Regions from separate parts of the Homo sapiens genome. Here regions 2 and 3 are each linked to region 1. Evidence: promoter capture Hi-C in human tissues and cell types (Jung and others, 2019). All regions are on one chromosome and are shown on one strand. The core of a region is centred on a gene start or on the middle of the fragment in contact, and the rest is flanking DNA. Distances in the headings are between cores, read along the strand shown. Region 1 holds the start of TMPRSS6 (transmembrane serine protease 6). Region 2 holds the start of KCTD17 (potassium channel tetramerization domain containing 17). Region 3 holds the start of IL2RB (interleukin 2 receptor subunit beta).

What was found. The method cuts DNA at HindIII sites, captures the fragments that hold promoters and counts their contacts. A contact is called where the count stands out against the background at its distance.
Region 2: the fragment with the promoter of KCTD17 here is called in contact with the fragment with the promoter of TMPRSS6 in region 1 in 3 of the 25 tissues and cell types used here (IMR-90 fibroblasts, lymphoblastoid cells and spleen).
Region 3: a fragment that was not itself captured here is called in contact with the fragment with the promoter of TMPRSS6 in region 1 in 2 of the 25 tissues and cell types used here (IMR-90 fibroblasts and spleen).

Annotation. Positions count from the first base shown.
Region 1 is chr22:37,107,026-37,111,617 of GRCh38, reverse strand. TMPRSS6 (transmembrane serine protease 6) reads left to right here and starts at 1,905. Exons shown (of 18, transcript NM_001374504.1): 1 at 1,905-2,115. RefSeq lists an enhancer at 3,174-3,675. The HindIII fragment of the contact is 35,568 bases long and covers 1-4,592 here.
Region 2 is chr22:37,049,933-37,054,524 of GRCh38, reverse strand. KCTD17 (potassium channel tetramerization domain containing 17) reads right to left here and starts at 2,783. Exons shown (of 9, transcript NM_001282684.2): 1 at 2,576-2,783; 2 at 1,317-1,425. The coding sequence starts at 2,764. RefSeq lists enhancers at 1,181-1,897, 1,898-2,615 and silencers at 2,552-2,671, 2,682-2,991. The HindIII fragment of the contact is 12,846 bases long and covers 1-4,592 here.
Region 3 is chr22:37,149,249-37,153,840 of GRCh38, reverse strand. It overlaps IL2RB (interleukin 2 receptor subunit beta), which reads left to right and starts at 3,925. Exons shown (of 10, transcript NM_000878.5): 1 at 3,925-4,016. RefSeq lists enhancers at 3,555-3,666, 3,749-3,780, 3,863-3,885 and a promoter at 3,060-4,015. The HindIII fragment of the contact is 6,256 bases long and covers 1-4,592 here.

The DNA of each region.
Region 1 (4,592 bases), core at 656-3,155:
CGCTGCACACTCCACTCACACGCCTCACACTCCACACATGCCTCACGCTCCACACACACCTCACACTCCACACACGTCTCACACTACACACACGCTTCACACTCCACACATGCTTCACACTACATACACCTTACACTACACACACACCTCACACTATGCACACACCTCACACTAAACACATGCCTCATATTCCACACATACTGTGAGCATGCACACACACACACACACAGCTGCACACACCTCTCATGCTCCATACACACCTCACACCATACGTACCTCAAAGACACACACACCTTACACTGCACATTCCCAGCACCCACACTGCACACACATGCACAGTCCATATGCCCACACAACACACTTCACACACCCCCCACCCCACACCATACAAACCTCACAGACACACCTCTCACACAAATCTTATACCCCACACACAATCCCTACGCTCCACACACACACACACACACACACACGCACATTCTACACATACATAATCTACACACACAAATTCCAGACTGTCTCTCTTACACACACACTCTGGGACCCATATGCCCACAGCACACAGCATCTCAGGCGTGCACCCCGCATTCTGGCCTCAGGATGTAGACTCGCTGAAAGTCAGCCTTGTCTGAGACAGACGCCCGCTGCCCTGCACGCACCCTAGAAAGCCCTGGCTCCCATCCGGCACTTCGGCACGCATATGGCTCAAACCCATCTCCACAGCAACGCTGTTCCATAGAACAACAACGCAGGTCACACTTGTGACTTAACCTGTCTAATATCCACATGCAACAAGGGGTGTGGTGGCCCGCGCCTGTAATCCCAGCTACTTGGGAGGCTGAAGCAGGAGGATCATGTGGGCCCAGGAGCTCCAGACCAGCCTGGCAACCTAATGAGACCCTGTCTCTGAAAAAAAAAAAAACAAGAGAGCCAGAAGAAAATTGCTTTTAATAATACATTTTATTTATCCCATGATCACCAGTGTTATTTCAACATAAAATCAATATAAAAATTGTTATCGCGTTGGTTGACATCCTGTTTGCACTTGGCCTTGGAAACCTGGTGTGCGTCTCCCCCGTGCAGCTTTTCTCAGTTCAGACTGACTCAAGAGCCACGGGTGACCAGCGGCTACCGTCATGGACAGCACAGCGCTACGGAACCAGGTAGGAATTCATGCTGCGTGCGGTCGCTCATGCCTGTAATCCTAGCGTTTTGGGAGGTCGAGGTGGGTGGAATCACTTGAGGTCAGGAGTTCGAGACCAGCCTGGCTAACATGGTGAAACCCCATCTCTTCTAAAATTATGAAAATTAGCCGGGCATGGTGGTGGGCGCTGTAATCCCAGCTACCTGGGAGGCTGAGGCAGGAGAATTGCTTGAACCCGGGAGGCGGAGGTTGCAGTGAGCCGAAATCACACCACTGCACTCTAGCCTGGGTGACGGAGTGAGACTCCATCTTAAAAAAAAAAAAAAAAAAAAAAAAGAACGAGGTAGGAATTCAAATAATTCCCAGCTAAACAGAAAATAGCATCAAACCCCACCCCTGCCTCCCCTTTCTCCTCTCCAGTCCCCAGAGTATATGGGCCCAGCCTCCTTTTCTCTCTCTCAGGCCAGCAGCTCCTTTAGTCTCGCCTGTCCAGGTAAGCACCTGGACTCACCCTTGTGAGCCCCTGCACTCACCTGCACCGGCCTCTGCACAGTCCCCAGTCCTTGGCTGTCCCTACCTCATGCTCTCGGGGACCAGGGGCTGTAACCAGGCAGGCATGTCACCAGGCAACGGGCCTCGGGGGAGAGCTCAGATCTCCCGCACCTGCCTGCCAGCCTCTGGGGTGCCCATGCGGGGGTGGGGGAAGATGGGGCGGGGCAGGCACTGCCTTCTCCTACCTCCTGCCTGTTTACCTGTACTTAGTCACAGTGCTGTCCAGGACCCAGCAGGAGGAGTTCCATGGAGCCTGAGGCCACAGGCCACAGGGGACAAGGGCCAGACACCCTGGTCATGGCTCTAGGCCATTGATCCAGCCTGGGCTGGCTGGGTGGGGGTGGGGAGGCCTTGGCCTGGACAAACAGAGGCTCCTGAGGCCTGTGTGCAGGCCCGGCACCTATCTGCCGCTCCCAAAGGTAAGCGGGGGCCTCCAGGACAGGGGACCGGGATCTATAAATGACCTAGTGACAGTGTCCACCCTAAGAGCTGGGCCTGGCTCCCTGCAGCCTGAGCCACCTACCCTGCTCCGAGGCCAGGCCTGCAGGGCCTCATCGGCCAGAGGGTGATCAGTGAGCAGAAGGTGAGGGGCCCACAGAGCTGGGGAGGGGAGGGACCACGCAGGGTGACACCAGGTGTGTGGACAGGCACAGCATCAGTGCTGGGTGGTTGGTGGCCTGGGATTCAGGTGGCAGGGACAGGAGGAAGGGAGAGGCCACCCTACCCCTGCCTCGCAGGACTGGACATGCTGCCCCCTCCACACCCGGTACCCCACCTGGGCCTTCTGGTGTAGGAGACAGGCCCGGAGCCCCACATTGCACCTATGTACTGACTTAAGCCCAGGACCCTGGGCTCACAGGCTCAGAGTTGGCATGTATGTGTATGTGTGTTCGTGTGTGTGTCTGTGTAGGAAGGGCGTGCATCTATGAATTTTTGTGTCATGAATAGATGTGCGTATATCCCTCCGCGTGTCTCCATCTGTGTACATCTGTGGGTCTGTGAGTGTGTTTATATGTGTGGAAGGGACCCCCACCCAGTCCCCCACACTCTCAGGACTCTAGGGCCTAATGGTTTCACTGAAAGATGCCCCTATGGCCCTAGCCCAGAGTCCCTGCTCTGCTCTGCTCTGCCCTGGCTGAGGGACCTCGGGTAAGTCATGTTACCTCTCTCTACCTCAGTTTCCCCAGCCATTAAATAGAGTCAGCAAAGTAGGCACCCCAGGCTGTTGGAGGCTGCAGTGGAGTTTGCAGCACTGCCCAGCACAGGGCTGGCACATGGTAGGAGTTCATACGCAGTGGTTGAATCCGGATCTGCATTGCTGGGGGAGTCGCGGCCCCGCCCCAAGGAGCTCAGCCTCCAGCAGGCAGACCCGAGACCCTCCAATGGCCAGAAGGGCAGGAGGGAGTGAGGAGCAGGTGCCAGGGTGGGGTCCATGGTGCTCAGAGCTGGGGGACTGCTTCAGGCCCCTGTGGCAATTGGAGCACAGTCCCCGCTTCCAGGAGTTCAATGTGAGGGGCAAAGAGAGAGTGCCCACAGGTAAGCTGCACATCGCGAGGGGCAGCCGCCCCTTCTAGGGCACTCTGGGAGAGCTGCGAAGAGGTGAGGTCTGAACTGAGGTGACAGGGGCTGCATAAGAGCTGGCCAGGTTGGGAGGTGGGGGCCCAGGCAGAAGGAAGAGTGTGGGGACGCCTGGCCGTGAACAAGCACTGACAGGGCTCAAGGTCCACGAGGGCTCTTGGTGCCGGCTGGCTGCTCTTAATCCATAAATGTTTGCTACCATCCCATTGTTAAAATTTCTCACCAATGGAAGTCCAGTGTCCTTGGGGTGCGACGGGGAAAAGAGAGGGTGGGAAAAAAGGAGGCAGGAGAAGTTGGCCAGGCCACATATGCACACAGCACCTTGGACTTCTGTAGGGAGGAAGGAGCTGGGACCTTGTCATTCATTCATTTAACAATTACTGAGTGTCCGCTGAGTACCAGACTCTGCTCTCATGCAGCTTACAGACAGGGAGGAGGCAGATAAATGACATATTTGCATATCAGGCAATTTAGGCCTCTGTAATTGCTATAAAGAAAAATGCAGGAGAGACGGGAGTGCCCAGGGAAGGCCTCTCTGGAGAGGTGACATCTGACCCTTTGGAGGAGGTAAAGGAGGGAGCCACGAGGCCAGCAGAAAGGAAAACATCCCAGGCCCAGCAAGGAGCAAACCTCCCATTCAGCAAAGAGGACAGGAAAACTGAGACCCTGGGTCTTTAGGGACTGTGTTCTAGGTGGATGGAAGCCGTGCGAGGCTTGTGGGCAGGGCACATGGTGACAACACGCAGTGGCCATTGTGTGAGAACTCACTGGGTAGGGGGGTGGGTGATTGGCTATTGCAGGAGTCGAGGTGACAGATGACGGTGGCCTGGATGATGGTGGGAGTCATGGGGGGCCAAGAAGGGGCTGGCTTTGGGGGGCATTTGGAAGGTAGGGCCACAGGCTTTTCCAAAGGTGCTGGACCCTGGGAATGGGGGAGCCGTTGTATTATAAGATAGTAAAGACAAGAGTGGCACCGTCATCTTCACAACTGTCCACTGCCCCTCCTCCTGCTGGGCAGGAAACCCAAGAGGATGGGAATGAGGTCTCTTAGAGTCACCATGTGCCACCCTGTCGCCACCACAGAGCCTGGCACCAAGCAGGTGCTAGACAAAGATAGGGTGACTGAGCATTGAACCTGGGACCCCACAGGCCCACACCATTGTCCATGCCCCAGTGCCAGGCCTCACAAGTCCTCCTTCCTGGAGGCAGCAAGATAGAAAGCCCTGTACCAGGGGCCTAGAGACTTGGCAGTTTCATTCACTCATTCTTTCTGATCCTTCACTCATGTGACGGGCTGTGCGGCGTTCCATGGGGAACC
Region 2 (4,592 bases), core at 1,534-4,033, 58 kb after region 1:
TAGCCCCCGGATAGCCCTGCGTGATCCCCTAGCCCCCGGATAGCCCTGTGTGATCCCCTAGCCTCCGGATAGCCCTGTGTGATCTCCTAGCCCCCAGATAGCCCTGTGTGATCCCCTAGCCCCCAGATAACCCTGTCTGATCCTCTAGCCCCCAGACAGCGCTGTCTGACGGTGTGGGAATAGCAGGGCTTTGAGAATGCAGGGCGTGTAAACAGGTGCTGGCTGCGACGCAGCTGGGGTGTTTACTTCCCTCCCGATGGGGCCTGCTCCTGAGCCTAGGCCACGCCCATGGTATCTGTGCTCCCCTAGGGATTAACAGGCAAGCTGTGGGGCTCTGCAGGGCCAGGCACCTACAGTGGACTCTGGTGTTGTGGCCCTGACCTATTAGAGAGTTGCTGGGCCTCCAGACCACTGTGTCCCATAGGGCTCAGGGAGGGCAGACCATGGCCCAGAGCAGGAAGGCACGCACAGGTGCAGGATTTATGACATCTCCCTCCAGAAGGCAGATCACCGCCCCCATTGAATAGATACCAGTGGAGACGCAGTGAGGAGAAGTGACATATTCAAGCTGGTCTGGCTGGATCAGCTGACCCAGAGCCACACCCTGTGTCCCAAAGAAGAGTTAACTTGGCACTGACTGTAGTCCTTGCCCCTGGCTGCAGCTCTGCTAACAGGTCGTTCTCCCAGACATGGCCTCCCCACTGTTTGTTAGGCCCGGATATGGGCATATCCAGGGCCTCGGCCACCTAGGCCTGGGGATAACCAAAGCCCCACTGGGAAGCAGACTCCCCCCTCTCCTGCCTCCACCCACAGCCAGCACTGTGCCGCACAGGCTGCCAGACTTAGTGAACAGTCACCCGCTCCACCCACTTACAAGCCCTCACCAGGCAGAATTTGAGATACTGGATCAGCCAGAGAAAGAGAGACAGAGCTCTCCCCATGCCTGTCAACACTGCATTCCTGTCACCCCAGCCTCCGGATGTGACCGTCCACACCTGGCTTCCTAGGAGGCCAGAGAGAAAGGGCGTCACAGCCCACAGCAGAGGCCACAGGGCCTCGCTGACTTCCTCTATCCCCTGCACATGTGTCTCTTCACCTCCCTGACAGTACCCAGGGAAAGCTTGAGCCCGTCCGCTTGGCAGAGCCCCAGGCTCGGCACAGGCAGATGCTTGGGAATCAGCCCCGTCCGACTGGGAAGAGGCAGGAAACAACCAAGCAGGCAGATGGCCGTCCTGGTTGTCCAAATGGCTTGGGGCCTCCACAGAGGGCCCTGGCAGGCTGCATAAGGTCCAGGCCAGCCCCCTGGACCAACTCACCCTCCTCAGCCATGTCCTTGTCCAGCACCAGCTTGCCATGCCGGAGGAAGTTCAGGATGGGCCCGAAGTAGGTGGGGTCACGGTCAATGAGGTAGGCCCCGGTCTCATCCTATGGAGGTGAGGGATGCTCGGTGAGAGAAGAGTGAGGCTTCTCCCCAGCCAACCCCGCACACGCACAGGGAGGGAAGGAGAGTGGAGGGAGAGCTCTTCCCTGGATGGAGCAGGCACAAAGTAGCAAAAAGGCACTGGGGTCAGATGGACCTGAGTTCAAGCCCTGCTTCTGACTCTTCCTGAATGTGTGACCTTAGGCTAATGATTTGGCCTCTTTGAAACTCACTCCTCTCCCCCTAATCAGGGTTTGCTGTGAGCATCCGGTGAGAGGATGTCTGAGTGGCAACTGGCCCAGCACAGGGCTCGAAGAATGTCCCTCTGAGAGGCTGTCCCCTGAAGCCAGCCCCACTGTCGCCCCCAGGTCCCTAGGCTTTCAGGGGATGTTTACAAGTTTCCAAAGGAGTCACTATCTCACTGGACACTCGGGCGGGCAGGGAGGCAGGGTGGGCTTCCATGCGACTCTACAGAGAGATCGGAGACATTGAGAGGTGAGGCGACTTGCCAAAGGCCACAGCATCGGAGGGTCACGGATGGGGGACAGGAGACCTTAGAGGTCATCTTCAGACCAGCCCTTCGTGTTACAGATGAGGAAGGAGGCTGAGCGCAGTGCAGGGAAGGGTCCGACTCAAGGTCGCGGCAGGCAGTGTGCAGCAGAGTCAGGGTGGGTGCTCAGAAATAGTGCCCGCTGGGCCAACGCTCCTTCTAGATTCAGCCCGCTCAGAAGGCGCCCCAGGGCTCCTCCATCCAGCTAGCTCCCTGCACCCCTCCGCCACCCACATCCCAAAGAGCGGGAGAAGTAGCCTCGTCGACTCCTTCCCCAGAGCAGGAGTCCCCTTTGGGAGGGAGGAAAGGTCCCAGGTCTCTCCCTGTCCACAGCCCCAAAGGAGAAGGAGAGGCCCCGATCCGGGGCGGCTGGAGAGCTTCTAATGGCCGCGGCCTGCGTCGTCCCGTTGCCACGGCAATGGGTACATCCCTCACTACCAGACCCACCTCCCCCTCCCCTCCTCCTGCCGCTTCTTCCCGCCTCCAGTTCCTCGGAAATGAACCCGGCCGGGTCCCCAGCCTGGCGGGCGAGCCAGGCCCGACAGCCCCGCGTCGGGCGAGCGGAGGACCCACCGCCCGCTCGCCGCCCACCCCGGGGGCCTCACCCGGTCCGACTGCAGCTCTTCCCCCTGGCACAGGCGGCTGAGGAAGGACTTCTGCTCGCGGCACAGCGTCTGCCGGGTGGTCAGGAACACCGTGCCCCCCACGTTGAGCCGCACCCACTTGCCCCAGCCGCCTGCGGCGCGGCCGCCCGCCCCCGCCGGCGGCGCTGCCTCCCCGGCCTCCATCCTCATCGCCGGCCGCGGCGTCTGCATCCTCCTCCCGGGCGCTGGGGGCGGGCGGGGACCGCACGCGGGGCAGGCCGGGAGCTGTAGTCCGCGCCTCCTGGCTCCGCGTGGGCCGCGGGTAGGGTCCCGCCCCGCGCTGCTCCCGCCCCCGGTCCCGCCCCGCTTCGCCCTTCCCCGCAGGCCCGCAGTCTGGGGTGGTGAAGATGCCCTCTGGCCAAATCACTGTGTATGGGGAAGGTCGAACTCCCGGCCTCTGGGAAAAGAATGAGGGCTTCCCCAAATCTGCAGTCATCCCATGGGTCCGAGCATTCTTGTTTTTCCTTTGTGCCGTCTCCGTCGTCCAACAGCTGATAAGGGAAGAAACTTTCCCCTCCAGGAATCCCCATAGCATTGACCCGCATGTGTTTCGTCATATTTTTTCATTTGCCCTTTGTGTGTATAGGGGTGGGGGCGGGGTGGGTGGGAGTGGGTTCTTTCCCTCACCTGAGTTCTTGGAGAACGACATAGCTGGACTTGAGGTTGGCTGAGCACCTGTATGCCAGACACTTTGTGTATATGTGTTATGAATTTAAGCTCTCAGCAGCCCTGTGAGTCTGGTATTTTGGGCTATACCCATTTTACAGATGAAGCCACAGAAGCGAAGTGACCGCCCTACTCACATTGCTGGTGAGTGAGTACCCACCAAGGTCTCTTTCCTGCTCCCTGACCATGGAATGTCAGGGATCCTTGGGAAAGACTTCTAAGGAGGAAGAGTAGAGCACGCCCTGGATCCGAGTCAGGAGAACTGAGTTTCCATTCTGGCTTTTGGCCTTTCTCAGTTTTTCCACGTCCTCCCTAAGAAGGAGGAGGGATTGGTTCTGCGGGTGGCTTTCTGAGTTATTCCCCAGTTAACTCGGAGGGGAACCGTCATTCTGTGGACCTCAGGATGGGGGAAGGGAGCAGTTCCTCATGTGGTCCGGGACCAGGGAGGGACAAGGGCTGACGAGGAAGCTGTCTCCTTAGCTTCCTCTCCTTACTGGTTTCAGTCCTGGTCCTGGCCTATGGGGGAGAGGTCTGGGGCTCCTCTCACTGATCCAATGTCACACGCAGCTGGCCCGAACACTGGGCAGCCTGGCCCTGTGCTGGGAGAAGTTTCCCTGTTACCACCCAATGCCCTGCTTTCTGCATAAAGCTTTTCTCCTTGGCAGGGAGTGGATCAAAGGTGTACTGGAATCCTGCTACTTAAAATTCACTAGGTGTGTCCTGAGCAACTTCCTCTCTGAGATTGGCTTTCTCTCTTGCCAAATGGGATTTACAACAGTTGTGACCCCAGAGCATTGCTGTGAAGATTAAGTTATGAAATGTCTATAAACATCTAGCGTAGGCTGGGTGCGGTGGCTCACACCTGTAATCCCAGCACTTTGGGAGGCCAAGGCTCGCTTGAGCATAGAAGTTCAAGACCAGCCTGGACAGCATAGTGAGACCCCTATCTCTCTCTCTCTCTCTCTCTCTCTCTCTCTCTCTCTCTTTTTCTTTTTTGAGATACAGTCTCACTCTCTCACCCAGACTGGAGTGCAGTGGCACCATCTCAGCTCACTGCAACCTCTGCCTTCTGGGTTCAAGCAATTCTCATGCCTCAGCCTCCTGAGTAGCTGGGATGACAGGCATGCACCACCACGCCTGGCTAATTTTTGTATTTTTAGTAGAGATAGGGTTTCACCACGTTGGCCAGGCTGGTTTTGAACTCCTGAGCTCAAGTGATCCTCCTACTTTGGCCTCCCAAAGTGCTGGGATTACAGGTGCGAGCCACTGCGCCTGGCCCCCATCTCTATTTTAAAAAAATAAAACGATAGAA
Region 3 (4,592 bases), core at 1,047-3,546, 42 kb before region 1:
TCTTTTCTTTGTATGTGTGTGCTTTTAAAGTTTTAACTGAATTCATTTATTTGGGGGCAGGAAATATGTTCATGCCATACAAAAGGGTCTATAGAGAAAAGCGTCCTTCCTAACCCTTCCTCACCTGGCTCTCCTCCCTGAGACAACCGGCGTTCCTAATTTCTTGCAAAGCTTCTGGGAATATTTGAGGCTTAATAAATGTTGGCTGTTATTCTCATGGTTGTGGCTGTTGTGTTTAGTATCCTCTCCTGCCGCCAGACAGCCTTACTCTAGAGGAGAGGGAAGGGCAGTGTGGAAGGAACTGGCCCTTACAGCAAGCCTGCAGTGCGTGGTCACATTAAATGCTTTATACACACCTTCTTGTCCAGTTCTCCCTTCATTTGGTAGGTCTGCACACTGAAGCACAGGGAGGCCTAAGTCACAGCCTCAATCTCCAGTCCTGCCCCTCCTGGGCAGCAGTGCTCCACGCTTCTTCTTTTCCAGCAGCGGGCTTTGCACATGGGAGTTGGGCCTGATTCTCTTTTTGGAGTCTTGAATTCCACTTTTCTCACATTTGCAGAGCTGCCGTCTCTGCTCTTCTCTCTCTTCTTCTCAGAAGAGGTGGCAGGCTGGGCGCAGTGGCTCACACCTGTAATCCCAGCACTTTGGGAGGCCGAGGGAGGTGGATCACCTGAGGTCAGGAGTTCAAGATCAGCCTGGCCAACATGGGGAAACCCCGTCTCTACTGAAAATACAAAAATTAGCCGGGCATGGTAGCACGTGCCTGTAATCCCATCTACTCGGGAAGCCGAGGCAGGAGAATCGCTTGAACTTTGTGGGCAGAGGTTGCAGTGAGCCGAGATTGTGCCACTGCACTCCAGCCTGGGTGACAGAGCTAGACTATGTCTCAAAAAAAAAAAAAAAAAAAAAAAGAGGCCACAGCTTGCAATAAAACCCCTCTGAAACAGGGAATCAGGAAAGGGAAGAAGCAGAGCTGCTGCTTCTGGGCTCTGAGGATGGAACTTCACAGGGTCTATGGGGCTGTGATGTAGCACGTAAATAGATGTGCATTTTTCTAAAGACCAATCCATAAGTTTCCATCATTTAAAAAAAAGAGCCCTGAGCTGAGCTCCCACGCCACCCTTCTCCCCCGCCAAAAAAGGGGGAGAAGGGTTAGGAACCATGACTTGAGAGGAAGAGGAAGGTTCTAGAATGTTCAGTAAGTGACCATCAAATTGTTCACAAAGACCTGATAGTCATCTCTGGGAAGTGCTAGCTAGAACAAACAGACAAGAGAAAGAAGTAAAGGGCATCCAAATTGGAAAGGAAGAAGTCAAATTATCCTTGTTTGTAGACGATATTATCTTATATTTCAAAAAGCCTAAAAACGCCACCACAAAACTATGAGAACTGATAAACAAATTCAGTTAAGCTGCAGAATACAAAATCAACATACAAAAGTTAGTAGTATTTCTATGTACCAACAGCAAACAATCTGAAAAAGAAATCAAGAAAATAACTCCATTTGGAATAGCTACAAATAAAATAAAATACCTAGGAATAAACGTAACCAAAAAAGTGAAAGATCTCTATAATGAAAACTATAAAACGTTGGTGCAAGAAACTGAAGAGGACACAAAAAATAAAAAGATATTCTATGTTTATGGATTGGAAGAATCAATATTGTTAAAATGTCCATACCACCCAAAGAAATATACAGACTCAATGTAATCCCTATCAAAATACTAATGACATTCTTCACAGAAGTAGAAAAAATAATCGTCAAATTTATATGGAACCACAAAAGATGCAGAGTAGCCAAAGCCATCCTAAGCAAAAAGAGTGAAACTGGACAAATCACATTATCTGACTTCAAATTATACCACAGAGCTACAGTAACCAAAACAGCGTGGCGCTAGCGTAAAAACAGATGCATTGACCAATGAACCATTGGTCAGAATAGGGAACCCAGAAACAAATCCACACACCTACAGTGAACTTATTTTCAACAAAATTGCCAAAAACATACCTTTGGGGAAAGGCCAGTCTTTTCAATAAATGTTGCTGGGAAAACTGGATATCCATATGCAGAAGAATGAAACTAGACCCTCATCTCTCTTCATATACAAAAATCAAATCCAAATGGATTAAAGACTTAAATCTGAGACCTCAAACTATGAAACTACTAAAAGGAACATTGGGGAAACTCTTTAGGACATGGGACTAGGCAAAGATTTCTTGAGCAATACCCCACCAGCACATGCAACCAAAGCAGAAATGATAGATGAGATCACATCAAGTTAAAAGGCTTCTACACAGCAAAGGATGCAATCAGCAAAGTGAAGAGACAACCCACAGAATGGGAGAAAATATTTGCAAACTATCTGACAAGGGATTAATAACTGGACTAGATAAGGAGCTCAAACATCTTTATGGAAAAAAATTATAGAAATCCCATCAAAAATTGGGCAAATGATCTGAATAGACAGTTCTCAAAAGAAAACATATAAGTTTATGAAAAGGTGCTCAACATCATTGATCATCAGAGAAATGCATGTCAAAACTACAATGAGATATTATCTCACCTCAGTTAAAATGACTTTTATCCAAAAGGCAGGCAATAATGAATGCTGGTGAGGGTGGGGAGAAAAGGGAACTCTCGTACACTGTTGGTGGGAATGTAAATTAGTACAACCACTATAAAGAACAGTTTGAAGAGTCCTCAAAACACTAAAAATAGAACTACTATATGATCCAGCAATCCCACTGCTGAGTATATACCCAGAAGAAAGGAAATCAGTATATGGAAGAGACATCTGCATTCCCACATTTGTTGCAGCACTGTTCACAATACCCAGGATTTGGAAGCAACCTAAGTGCCCATCAACAGATGAATGAATAAAGAAAATGTGGTACATATATGCAATGGAGTACTATTCAGCCATGAAAAAGAATGAGATCCTGTCTTTGCAACCACATGTTTGAAACTGGAGGTCATTATGTTAAGTGAAACAGGCCAGGCACAAAAAGACAAAGCTCACATGTTCTCACTTATTTGTGGGAGCTAAAAATTAAAACAATTGAATTCATGGAAATGGGAAGGGCAGTGATGGAGATGGGAAGGGCAGTGGGGGTTGGAGGGGTGGGGATTGTTGTTGGGTACGAAAACAGAATTAGATCGAATGAATAAGATCTAGTATTTGATAGCATAACAGGGTGACTTTAGTCAACAATAATTTATTGTACATTTAAAAATAACTAAAAGAGTATACTTGGATTTTAACACAAAGAAAGGATAAATACTTGAGGTGATGGATACCCCATTTACCCTGATGTGATTATTATACATTGTATGCCTGTATCAAAATAGCTCATGTGCCTCATGAATATAGACACCTACCACATGCCCACAAAATTAAAAACTAAAAAAAACAGTCATCTCTGAATGCTAAACGGAGTAAGGGGCTTCCTGGAAGGCTGGGTGAAATGGGAGTCTCGGAAAGATGGTGTGTTGCAGGCTGGGAGGAGGGTGAGACGCTGGGGTCACCTAGAGGGACCTGCTTGTGTGAAGCCTACGTATTAGTGGGTATGTGTGTGACCGGATGGAGGCGTCAGAGGTGTTGGGTAGCCTGTGTGAGTTGGCGTGGGGGTGATGTAGGAGGGGAGAGAGGGAGGGCCTGCGTTCCCTTGGCTCCTGTGTGCAGCTAGGCCCCTATTTGACAATGTGTGTCTGTGTGTGTGTGTGTGTGTGTGTGTGTGTGTGTGTGTGTGTGTGCCGCCCCCAGCGTAGGAGGCAGATCTTTATCTGGCCCTGGGTGCTTGAGGAGTTTCAGGCTTTCTCATAAGCCTCGTCTCCCCGCCTCTCCACCCCAGGCCTTGCCCCTCTATCCTCTGCACAGGAAGTGGGCTGGCTCTGGGCTTTTAGTCTTTGCGGCCCCAGCAGCCAGAGCTCAGCAGGGCCCTGGAGAGATGGCCACGGTCCCAGCACCGGGGAGGACTGGAGAGCGCGCGCTGCCACCGCCCCATGTCTCAGCCAGGTGATGTCCCCCTGCCTCCCTCCCGGCCCCTGTGGACCAGCCAGAGGGCTGGGAGTGAAAGTCACAGAGAAGACTTTCAGCTCTGACTCAGTTCCCCCAGCAGTTTCTGCCTGAACTCCCATCCCCCAACTTTGTCTTAGAATTCCCCTAGGGAGGGGTTGGGCCCAGCTCTCATGGCTCCTGGCTGGAGGAAAAAGCGGTCCCCAGTCCCAGGTCAGCTCTCCTTCCCAACCCATTCAGGGGAGGCTAGGGACTGCTGTGGGATGAGGGGCTTCCCTGGGCTCTGTGTGCTGGGCCCCCAACCCGGAGAGGTGGAGAAGGGATGGGTGGATAGCCTGGGTGCCCGGAGAGGGTACGGGATATGGGGTGGGACAGGCGGGAGCCCCCTCCTGACCTCTGTGGAGTGGGGCCCATATACCGGGGGAGGCAGCCCTGTGTTGCGTGCTCATCAGGAGGCTTGTGGAGTAAGTGGGGACAGAAGGGTCCCCTTGGAGAGCCATCTATGAAGTGAAGTTGCTGCGAGGCCTCTGGGAGCCCCAGGCTGGAGGCAGAGCCCTGGGTTTGAGTCTGGGTTTG